Linked DNA regions of Homo sapiens: regions 1, 2 and 4 are each linked to region 3. Evidence: promoter capture Hi-C in 16 types of primary human blood cells and fetal thymus (Javierre and others, 2016). All regions are on one chromosome and are shown on one strand. Each heading gives the region's core, a stretch centred on a gene start or on the middle of the fragment in contact. The rest is flanking DNA. Distances are from core to core; before and after follow the strand shown. Region 1 overlaps CCSER1 (coiled-coil serine rich protein 1). Region 2 overlaps MMRN1 (multimerin 1). Region 3 holds the start of CCSER1 (coiled-coil serine rich protein 1). Region 4 overlaps CCSER1 (coiled-coil serine rich protein 1).

What was found. The method cuts DNA at HindIII sites, captures the fragments that hold promoters and counts their contacts. A CHiCAGO score of 5 or more calls a contact.
Region 1: a contact is called between a fragment that was not itself captured here and the fragment with the promoter of CCSER1 in region 3, in 6 of 17 cell types (M2 macrophages, total B cells, naive B cells and 3 more). The highest score is 15.3, in M2 macrophages.
Region 2: a contact is called between a fragment that was not itself captured here and the fragment with the promoter of CCSER1 in region 3, in 4 of 17 cell types (megakaryocytes, total B cells, M2 macrophages and 1 more). The highest score is 6.3, in megakaryocytes.
Region 4: a contact is called between a fragment that was not itself captured here and the fragment with the promoter of CCSER1 in region 3, in 3 of 17 cell types (M2 macrophages, naive B cells and total B cells). The highest score is 8.1, in M2 macrophages.

What each region holds. Positions count from the first base shown.
Region 1 is chr4:90,286,423-90,289,122 of GRCh38, forward strand. The region is part of intron 1 of CCSER1 (coiled-coil serine rich protein 1); the gene reads left to right. Among named protein-coding and RNA genes, the nearest start is that of CCSER1, 160 kb to the left of the region's middle. The HindIII fragment of the contact is 2,163 bases long and covers 180-2,342 here.
Region 2 is chr4:89,947,995-89,950,694 of GRCh38, forward strand. The region is part of intron 6 of MMRN1 (multimerin 1); the gene reads left to right. Among named protein-coding and RNA genes, the nearest start is that of MMRN1, 54 kb to the left of the region's middle. The HindIII fragment of the contact is 1,584 bases long and covers 507-2,090 here.
Region 3 is chr4:90,126,087-90,128,786 of GRCh38, forward strand. CCSER1 (coiled-coil serine rich protein 1) reads left to right here and starts at 1,308. Exons shown (of 11, transcript NM_001145065.2): 1 at 1,308-1,745. RefSeq lists silencers at 1,866-2,065, 2,176-2,425. The HindIII fragment of the contact is 6,776 bases long and covers 1-2,700 here.
Region 4 is chr4:90,304,872-90,307,571 of GRCh38, forward strand. The region is part of intron 1 of CCSER1 (coiled-coil serine rich protein 1); the gene reads left to right. Among named protein-coding and RNA genes, the nearest start is that of CCSER1, 180 kb to the left of the region's middle. The HindIII fragment of the contact is 7,841 bases long and covers 1-2,700 here.

The DNA of each region.
Region 1 (2,700 bases), core at 11-2,510, 160 kb after region 3:
AGTTTAGTTCATTAAAAATTTTATAGAATTATTTGGATAGTTTGTGCCACTTACACAGTTTATTGATGGGGATGCTTTTTTATAAAAATTATTTTTCATAAAGGTTAATATAACATAAATAAAAAAATGACTTGACTCACAACTTAAAATGTGATTTCTTATGCAAAGTGAAATTTTGAAGCTTTAAATAATTTAATTTTACTGAACATTTGTAACAGATACATTTTCTCAGTCTTGGACAGGGCTAGTGTTGGCTTAGAAAAATTCATACACTTAACATTCTATATTTATTTTGCATTTTCCTTTATGCCTAATGCAGATCTCCCATGTAGTAGTAGAATTTTAATAAAGTTTGTTAAGTCATTAACTTATAAACAGATTTTACATTCTTTGGAAATATCACTGTTCTTTGGAAACTTCACCCTGTGGCCTGTCTTCATGACTTGATTTCTTAAACTGCTACAAAGAGGTGTTCTTTCTCTGTCTGCATGGCCTCAAGTGAATTAATCATTGCAGAATGGAGAGAGACATTTTGAAGAAAAATAATGTAGTGTGATTAGACACATTTGCCTCAGGTTGCTGCAGCCAGAGTGTGTTGTGGTGGTAATTTACTAAATGGTACCCTGGTGGTATGAATGAGTTTTTAGGTTTTATGACTGCTTTACTTTTTTCCAAGAAGCGATTTACACATAGGACTTTGCTACTGCTCCTAAAAGAAGCAATAGAATCATTGATCTGAAATTCAAAAAAGCATCACCTTGGGTTCTTACATTAATAATTAAAAAAAAACCCTACAAAATAGGGTCAGCCAAAATCAGAAGCATTTAATGCTATAAAATTATTATTTAGAAGTAAAATGTATAAGTTACTTTATAGTGATATAGTAAATATTGCTATTTTAAATAGCCAATGATTGAAACTACCTACATGTTTTATAATAGGAGAAACCTTAAGTAATTTGTGGTAACTCCTTTTAAGAAATCCTATCTGTTAAAACTTTCATGAAGAGTTGATAATATGTATGAAATTCTTTAGCAGGATACAACATTGCATAGGCACTTTATCTCGGTGACTCCTCACTGTTCTGCATTATTTCCATGTTACATGAGTCTCATCAGAGTTTTCACAAAGCCATTCAAGATGAGGACATAGTTCTGATAAGAACATGTTTCATTCAACATAATGCCATGTAAAGGATTCCTGCATTTAAAAATAAACTAACATAGTAGATTCATGAGATTAGACGTTTTCCATTTTTTATATTCTTCATGTCCCCCAAAATTTCCAACTTTGATATTAGAAATGAATTTATTTTTAAAGAGTCTATTTTAGGAACATTTTGCTTTAAATATGAAAAAGAAATTACTTACAAGTAAATATTTAATCTAATTTGAAACTTTATGTATTTATGTTTCATTTTTCTATTCCATCCTGACTTTTCCATTGTGATTGTGATTTTGAGTAGTATTTCTTCTCCCAGTTAAAACAAATAGCAAAACAACAAACCAACAACTTTAAACAAACAAAAACCAACTGAACAACAACAAAAAAAACCCTGGGCATTTTTTTATTCTTTTCTTTCTCTCATCCCTCTATCAATAAACAATTATTACTAGTGTTACCCACAAGATTACCAAGTTTGTTATCTTGTTTATCTGTACCATGCTATTTAAGCGAGAATGTCGTTATCTCTCCTTTGGATTATTGCAATAGAATCCTAACTGGGTGGCTAGTTTTGGCAATCAATCCTGTACAAAGAGGCTATCTCTCTTAATTTAGCTCCCTACAAGGATCTGGACCTCTAAGTTCCTGACACTTCATCTCAAATAGTTATTCCCTTTACTCACACTGCTACTTGGAATGATCAGGCCTGCCCCAGGGAGTTTGCACTTGATTCTGCCTCTGCTGGAAGTGTTCTTCTCACTCTTCTTCATTCAGCTCAAATATCACCACCTCCATACTTGTCTTCTTCATTATTTATCTCATTACAGTAATTATTTTTGTAAGACATACATCACTGTTAAAGATCATCTAATATGCTTATTTGTTTTGTTTATATTCTGTCTCCCTCATTGGAGTAGATACTCCTCCAGAAAAGGGACTAGCCCCTCTAATTCCCTTCTGAATCCTCTGTGCCTGGAGGAGAATATGTTTCCTGTTTTTGAATTATTTGAGAATTCACTTAGTATTTTGTGCTAGAAGAGTGGTATTCAGACTGTAGTATAATAATCAGGGTGTAAAGGACACCCCTGCCCTACATAGGCATGGATACCTTTTAGATAACTAATTTCTCAATTCTCAATTTTTATTTGTGATTTTCCATACAAATTACTTGTTTGAGAAGCTTCTGAGTTTTGTCAGTCATCTTCCTCATGTTTCTTTCACAATCTCCCACTTTACAAAAAAACAAGCAAATTTATGAATTCAGATTCACTTGTGAATCTGTTTAGGATGCATTGTTCAGTTTCTAAAAACCTCTAGTGTATCAACCAAGGGATAAATTACTCAGGGAGTCTTTTGAGGGCTTCCTAAATAAATATTGGAAGGTGCAGTGCCCTGTTTCCTAGAGGCAATATTCTGGTGAGCCATTCTCCCCTTTCCTTCCTCCTCTCCTCCTCTCTCCCTTTGGATTCCAGAAGTGAGAAAGTAAGAATGTTGCTGTGGGGTATTAACAGGTTTACTTGATGCTTTCTTCTGAAG
Region 2 (2,700 bases), core at 49-2,548, 180 kb before region 3:
GGCACACACCACCACACCCAGCTAATTTTGTATTTTTAGTAGAGATGGGGTTTCACCATGTTAGCCAGGCTGATCTCAAACTCCCGACCTCAGGTGATCTGCCCGCCTCAGCCTCCCAAAGTGCTAGGATTACAGGCGTGAGCCACCGTACCCAGCCAAAAGTTGATTTCTAACTCATTGTATAACAAAGTACAAATAGCTTCAGTTGGAAAATCAGTGCCATTCAATCTTTAGTTGTCTGTTATAAGGCTCTGTACTTGTCACTAATCCATCAGGTATTTTTTTTCTAGTACGTATTTTTATCGATAACTTGGAGGAACGCATGAGACATAAATTTGGAAATGATAACAAAGATAGGGGAGGGTGGCTGAAACATCTATACAGAATAAAACTGAATGCTTTCTATGGACAGAGATGGTAACTCATGTCTAATAAGATAAATTTTATTATCAATAATAATTGTAAATTCATGTTTAAATGAATTAAATAGACATGAGATTTTAGAAAGCTTCAATACATCAGAGCACAGGAGACCTGTTATGAGACAGTGTGATACAGATGCAGAAATAGACAATGAATACTTAATGCTTGTGTTATCTTGACAGAAGTGTAAGTTCATTTCAGCAGGGGTAACTAGCAATTGCTACCATAACCTACTATGCTTGGGCTCAACTGGTACAATATGTCCAGTTCTGGGTGCCATGGACATGATTTTATATTTTAAAATGTGATTATTTTGGCAGAGACTTGGAAAGTCCAGACATACCTAAAATAGCAAAAAGAGGCACAGAAAGGAACTTAAAACAGAAGCAGTCGAAGCAGGTACAGACAAGTGGCTGAGGCATCCTGAGCAGATAATCAGTAGGCACCATGAAAGATGTCCTAGAAGGCAAGCTGTGTGCAGTCTCAAGAAGTTTGGGCTACTGTAACAGTAGTAGTAGATGCAGACCTTCAATTAAACTTAAGTGTAGCCCTACTCCAGATGAATGACCCTAAAAAGAAATTGGAAAATGGGGTAAAATAGCACCCTCTGAAATGACTCAAAGAACTACAGCAAGGCAAGACCCAATTCCTAAAGTAATGGAACATAAAGAAGCAAAAAATGGAATGCTGCTCCTGGACATTAAATAGCAGGCAGAATCCTTGATCCTGAAGATTCAGAGTAGAGCCAACAGCAATGCAGATAAATCTAATTTTTTCCACAGTTTCTTAAGTTCTCCTTATAGCACAGCTTTGATCCCTGATTCATGAACAGGGCCAAGGTTACAGGTGACTGTGATTTTTTATATTTGGGAAAATTAAAATTATAGAGCTGATCAAATTACATAAATAAGTTAGTGTTCCCCCCAACTCTACTGCACAATTGATACATTCCTAGTGAAACCCATTAATTGAAACTTCTCCTGTGAGTTGATCACTGTGCTAAATTCAGAGAATGTAAAAATAAATGAAGCAAATGCTTTGATACAGAATATTCACATTACTATAAGTAATGAAAAGTCATTGATGTTTTTAATGCAGGAAAATAATGGGCAAAGTTCTGGAATGTTAATGAGCAGCAAAAAAGGGATTTGATAATCTATTCACATGCAGCAAAGTGAGGTTAAAGGAATGTTAGCCAGTCGAAATATTTGTTAAAAGGTATTACACACATGTAATATTTTAATACTTTTCTTAATAAGGAAAATAGTTTATAGAATATTGCAGAGAATATATCAAGATAATTCTGATTAATTTCTCATTACATAAGTACAATATTAATATATTTGCTTTGCAAAAAATTTTAATAATACAGGCATGCCGTTTGTTCACATTTTATGTGAATTTCAATTGTATGGCTATGAAACAAAATGTATATAAAAATTTATAGGTCTCACTTCATGAGAAAAATATTACACAAAACAAATAACTTCCAAATTAAAAATCATCAACAATCACCTGGTTTGAAATGAGTGGATGGTAAACTACATCATTACCATAAGGTGGCACCAGAGTAACTGTGGCAAGTAGTATAAGCGCTGAATTCTTCTGACCTTGTTTCTGCATTTACATAATTATGCATTATGTTTATAACCATATTCATAATTTGAAGCTTTCACAACAAATGAAATTATTCTATATGTAATGTGTGAGCTGTAACTTTCTGTCTTCAGTAAACCAAACCTGTTGGAGAATCTACCTCATTCTTTAATTGCTGTCTAATATTCCTCAGTGGGAATATGTTACAATTTATTTAACAAGTCCTGCATCAGTGATCATTTAGGAGTCTTTAAATTTTTCAAGAATGCAAGTGATATCATTTTGAATTGAAGAATTGTCTTTGTGCACATGGACAAGTATGTCTGGAGTATATATATACTGCCAGAAGAAATGTTTGGCTCAAAGTAAATTAACCTTTTTAATACTGATAAATATCGTCACATTGTCCTATTAACAGCTATAGCAGTTTACACTCCAGCCAGCATTGCATGAAAAGGCCCATTTTCCCTTATATTGACATGACTGGATATTTTCTACGTATCTTTTTAAATGTTGCCACCTTATATTTAAATAATGTTATTATTGCTAAATTTATTATTTCTGAATTAGTAATGAGGTTGCATATGCTTTAAAACTTTTAGTGACCTTTTGTGGGTTTTGTTCAATGATTTGCCTACTGATACATTCTCCGTTTTTTAACTTATTTTTTTCTGATCTGTA
Region 3 (2,700 bases), core at 58-2,557:
TAATTTATGAAAAATGTTTCCTATAATTGTCTCCCAAAAGCAGAGTTGTCCCCATGCTGTAATATACATTGACCACTCAGATTCATTTAAAAAATACATCTTGCTTTTATTCCCAATATAACCACATTTCAGAAGTTAGATCATAGCCAGTTAGATTACACAGAGCGTGCGCACGCGCACGCGCACACACAAACACACCTTGAAAAAACTGTAGATCACTTGATTTCTGGAAGTTTTTCTCAATACCTCAGTGCACCTGATCACAACATCTTGTAATCTGGGCAGAAGGTAAGGGAGGTGATGTTAGGCGTACAAACTTAATATTGGGGATGCATTTTCTACCTAGAAATGGTCCTACATTCTACCAGAATGGGTTAAAAACAGATGCGCGCGCGCACACACACACACACACACACACAGAATTAAATGCACTACATTTGCTGTATTGCCTGCTAAAGGCATAAATATACTGGAGTGGAGATAAAGAAGGGGATGGATGGGAAAGAGTTCAGTACTTAGTGTAAACCTGAAAGGAAATGAGGCAGTGCAAGGGGAGAGAGGATCAGGGGAAAATAAATTATGTAGGCAACAGAACCATGCATCAAAAGTCTTTTCGATTTCTAAACTGGCAAATTTTCTCCAGGGGACCATCAGTCAAATGATGTCAAATTGAGCTGATTCTCTTGTAATGCCTGTATTGTGTAGGGCCTTCCTTGTAGGAACACAAGTTCCACTCTCGGACACAGTCGCAGTGCTTGCATTATCTTACAGAATTGATTGCTGCAAATGGTTCCTGGGAGGTGTGACCTGCTTAAAGGAAAGAAGCTAGGTTTCTTTTCTTGTTACTGAGGAATGAAGACACTTGTCAGGATGTGAATTGTGTGGGTGAGAAGGAAAAGCGGCGAAAGAATCTGGTAATTCCTTCCCTTACAGGAGGAAGAGAAAAAAGATAACATCGGAACCTTGGAGAGGAGAAATACAGTGCATTTATTTCCAGCATCCCCGCAGTCACTTCACGTCTCTTCAGACTTCCCCTATTCTTTAGTCTTGACCTGCCTATGCACTTGAACTCCACATAAGCACTAGGATGGACTGGGGGAAAAGGCCAGGTCAGCACGGTGGGATACTGCTTCCCCTAAAATGAAAACTCAGCAGCGGGCCAGCAGTGGGTGTGCGCGCGTCGATGCCAGAGGATGCGTGCGTGGAATCCGGCGGACGCAGTGGGCCGGGCACCGCCCTCCAAGCCGCCCCGCCCAGCCCACCACACTCCTCCTTGTATAAAGGCCGCGCTTGGGCCCGCCCTCCTCACAGCCCCGGAGCGCGGCCTGCCGGGGAGGTGGATCTCGCGCTCCCCACACAGTCACACTCCGCGCACTCACACACTTGGAAGCGCCTCCCCACGTCCCTCCCCTGCCCTCCTCTTGCTCTGCTCTTCTCTCCCTCACCACAAATAGTCGCCGACCTACTGCCAATCCGCCTCTCCTCTCTCTCTCTCTCTGTCTCAACATGACTGACTGGGAAGCGGTGGCTCGGGCAGAGCAGCTCCGCTGGCGCAGGCAGGAGGAGCAGGAGGATTATTAAATAACGCAGCTGGACTCTGTGCAACTGGGAGTGGAGAGGAGCCCAACAGCCGAGAAGGGGAGGGAGGGCAGAGGAGGGGGACCAGGAAGGACACCCCCGTGCCCCGAAGACATAAATCCCTGAGTGCCCGGGAGGAGCCTTAACAAGCGCACGGAGCCCTCAAGGTAGTAACGCCCCTGGTGCCTCAGCGCTCAGCGGGTCGCGCGTCGCGTCGCCGCTTTGCGGGGCCGGCCGCAGGCGGACGCGGGGATGACCGCTCGGCAGGTGACCGCGCCGTGTCGGGGCCGCCTGCGAGCAGCGCGCGCCCAGGCCCGGCGTGCTCGGCGCAGAGACCTGGCCTTGCGGGCGGGGTGGGAAGGAGGCGGGCGGGCTCGCTCACCACCGGCCCGCGACTCCCAGTGCGCCGCGTGGCCATTTCCTCCACGCTGCTGCGTGGTTTGCTGCCTGCGGCCGCGGCGGCCGCTCCAGGGCGATGCGGAGCGCTGGCCAAGGCGGCGAGAGTTGGCGCAGGCTTCGGGTCGCTCCCCTTCCTCGCCACTCGCGTCCCGCAGGTAGAGGCGACCGGTCAGCGCTGGCGCCCCGGGCTGCGGGTGCTGAGGCGGGGACGGCGGCGAAGAGGGGGAAGGGGAGGAGGGGGCGGGGAGCCAGGGGCTCCCGGAGGAACCGCAGTGCGGGGCCGGGACCACCTCTTGCCTCCGCCTGCTTGTCCTCTGGCGCCAGTTTCCTGGATTGGAAGCAAGACCCTGCCCAGAGGCAGCAGTAACGGCAGCGACTTAGATTGAACCACTTGCTTTGTGGTGGAGCGTCAAGGGCCCCAGGTTGTGTGCGTGTGTGTGTGTGTGTGTGTGTGCGCGCGCGCGCGCGCTCTGGACTAACCAGTGGGTTGGTTCACCTGAGCAGAAAGTCAGCCGTAAGCTGAAACCGCATGTGGCCCCCTGGCCCCTTCGACTTTTGGCTTGTGTCCCAGGGACTCGTACACACGGTGCCAGCAAGGGGTAAGGGTGACGGAGGGATTTGTGAATGGTGCTTCTGCGTGCGTGGAGGCTGAGCCTTGCTGATGTAAAGGAGGAGGTATCCAGAGTGAGAAGAAAGGCTATTTATGGCAAAGAGTTGTGAAAT
Region 4 (2,700 bases), core at 40-2,539, 180 kb after region 3:
AAAGAGTTATGGGACTGACTCTTTCATTTACTGTTGTTGTTGGTGTTTTTTATTTTTTTTTTTGAGACAGAGTGTCACTCTGTCCACCCAGGCTGGAGTGCAGTGGCCTGATCTGGCTCACTGCAACCTCCGCTTCCTGGGTTCATGCCATTCTCCCGCCTCAGCCTCCCTAGTAGCTGGGACTACAGGCGCCCACCACCATGCCTGGATAATTTTTTGTATTTTTAGTAGAGACGGGGTTTCACCGTGTTAGCCAGGATGGTCTCAATCTCCTGACCTCGTGATCTGCCTGCCTTGGCTTCCCAAAGTGCTGGGATTACAGGCGTGAGCCACCGCGCCCGGCCTCATTTACTGTTAATGCTGATCCAAATGCAGGAAATACTTTAAAAATGGCCAATAAATATTTTAATATACATAAATTTGAGTATTTCAGTAATGATGGTTGACATCTTGACATTCATGCATTGAAGTCTGTAGGTTCACAACCAGCTGCAAATCATTATGGTTGATTATATTCTAATTAGAGCAAAATTCTTCAATAGGCATTGAATGGAAATAAATGTTGTATATAAGTGAAAAATATCGTGGCTGTAAGTGATGTTAGTTAAACCATTTTAAAGAATATAGTCATGAAAAAATGTATTATTCATTGTATACACTTTGGAAAATCTAAGCTGTGAGGAAAATCACACATTTTTATTTGTGAAAAATTGTAAGAGCTAAAATGTCTGTTTATGTTTTAGGTTTTCTTCAAGCAAAGCCTTACAAGAATACTGAAATGTTTTGGAGTGTTTCACATATAGTTTGATTTAAATTCAAATTCATATGGAGAAAAGGGAACTCTTGCACACTGTTGGTGGGGGTGTAAATTAGCACAGCCTCTATGGAACACAGTATGGAGGTTCCTCAAAAACTAAAGACAGAACTACCATATGATCCAGCAATCCTACTTCTGGGTATATAGCCAAACAATTGAAATCAGTATGTCAAAGAGATATCTGTACTCCTATGCTTATTGCATCATTATTCATGATAGCCAAGATATGTAACAAACCTAAGTGTACATCTGTGGATGAATGGATTAAGAAAATGTGGTTTATTTATATAATGAAATGCTATTCAGCCTAAAAAAGAAATTCTGTCACATGTCACAACATGGATGAACCTGGAGGACATTATGCTCAATGAAATAACCTAGACACAGAAAGACAAATATTGCATGATCTCAGTTATATATGGAATCTAAATAATTAAACTCATAGAAGTAGAAAGTAGAATGGCTACCAGGCCCCAGGATGGAAGGACCGGGGGCTGGGGTGTCGGGGCCAGGGGAATGGGGAAATAATGTTCAGAGGGTACAGAGTTTCAGTTAGACAGGAGAAATAAGTTTTAGAGGTTGATTCGACAGCATGGTGACTATAGTTAATAATAATGTACTGCATATTTCAAAATGGCTAAAAGAGTAGATTTTAAGTGCTGTCACTACAAAAAATGATATGTATATGAGGTGATAAGTATGTTAATTTGCTTATTTCATAATATAAAAATATCAAAACATCACGTTATACCTCATAAGTATATACAATTGTCATCTGTCAATTAAAAATAAAATCAATTTTTAAAATTAAATTCATTGACTGTAGTGAAAAATCATCCATCAAAAATCTTATAATACAAATATGTTAGATTTTATGTTGTTTGGAGAAAAATATTAAATACTTATGAATGCATATCTGAAAGCAAATATTTGTCATTTTTGTCACATACTTGTTCAAGGAAATGAAAGTATTTTACTTGATCAGTTCTCATATTTATCAGGATGATAAAATAGAGGATTTTAAATTTTGTATAGTATTTGTTAATTTTTAGTCACGTAGTTTTGGTTGTAAAGACTAAGAAATGAAACAGAGTCTGATTCAATTTACAAAGGGAGAGATCGTATTACAGTTGAAGGATTAAGCAAAACTCATAAACAAAACAGCAACCAAATCAGGTACAGTTTAAAAATCAGTGAAAAATGGCAGTCACTAGAATAGCAATATTTGCTGTACAAGTTTGAATCCTTGATGTAGAAACATAGCTGGGCCTTCATTCAGCAGTAGGAGTTCATGACTAATTACTTTAGTGAATGCAGTATGTATCATGCTGATTATGAGCTGACCCTGTAGGGTTTTTTATTCCTGCTTTACCAGGTGTTGGCTGAATGACATTATGCAAGTTGCTTTTCTGTTGTAAAATGTTCATAGTCTTATTACTTATTTCTAGAAATATAAGGTGTGAAAGAGATAATCTGTGGGAAAGTACCTGGTACGTAGCAGTTGATGAGTTGTAGCTGCCACATCTCCTCACTCGTGTCCTCCTCCTCCTTTATCTTCTCCATTGATACCCTGAATATACTGACATTAATATGGTTCATAAATGTTCTATGCTTCTGATTCTCTCAGTATGTATTGTCACTTCTCTCAAGGTTACCAACTGTCTTAGTTTTTACTCAAGTATTTTCTTCAACTGATACCTGTGGTTCTCTCATAAGTTTAACTTGTTTATAACCCTATGTTATATCCTTGTGATTTAGTTTCTTCTTCTAATGGCCTGCTTATCTCTCAGCTTCCCAAACCAAACTTGTCCTGGGGTGGGGGGAGGGGGGAGGGATGGCATAAGAGAATTACCTATTGTAAATGACGAGTTAATGGGTGCAGC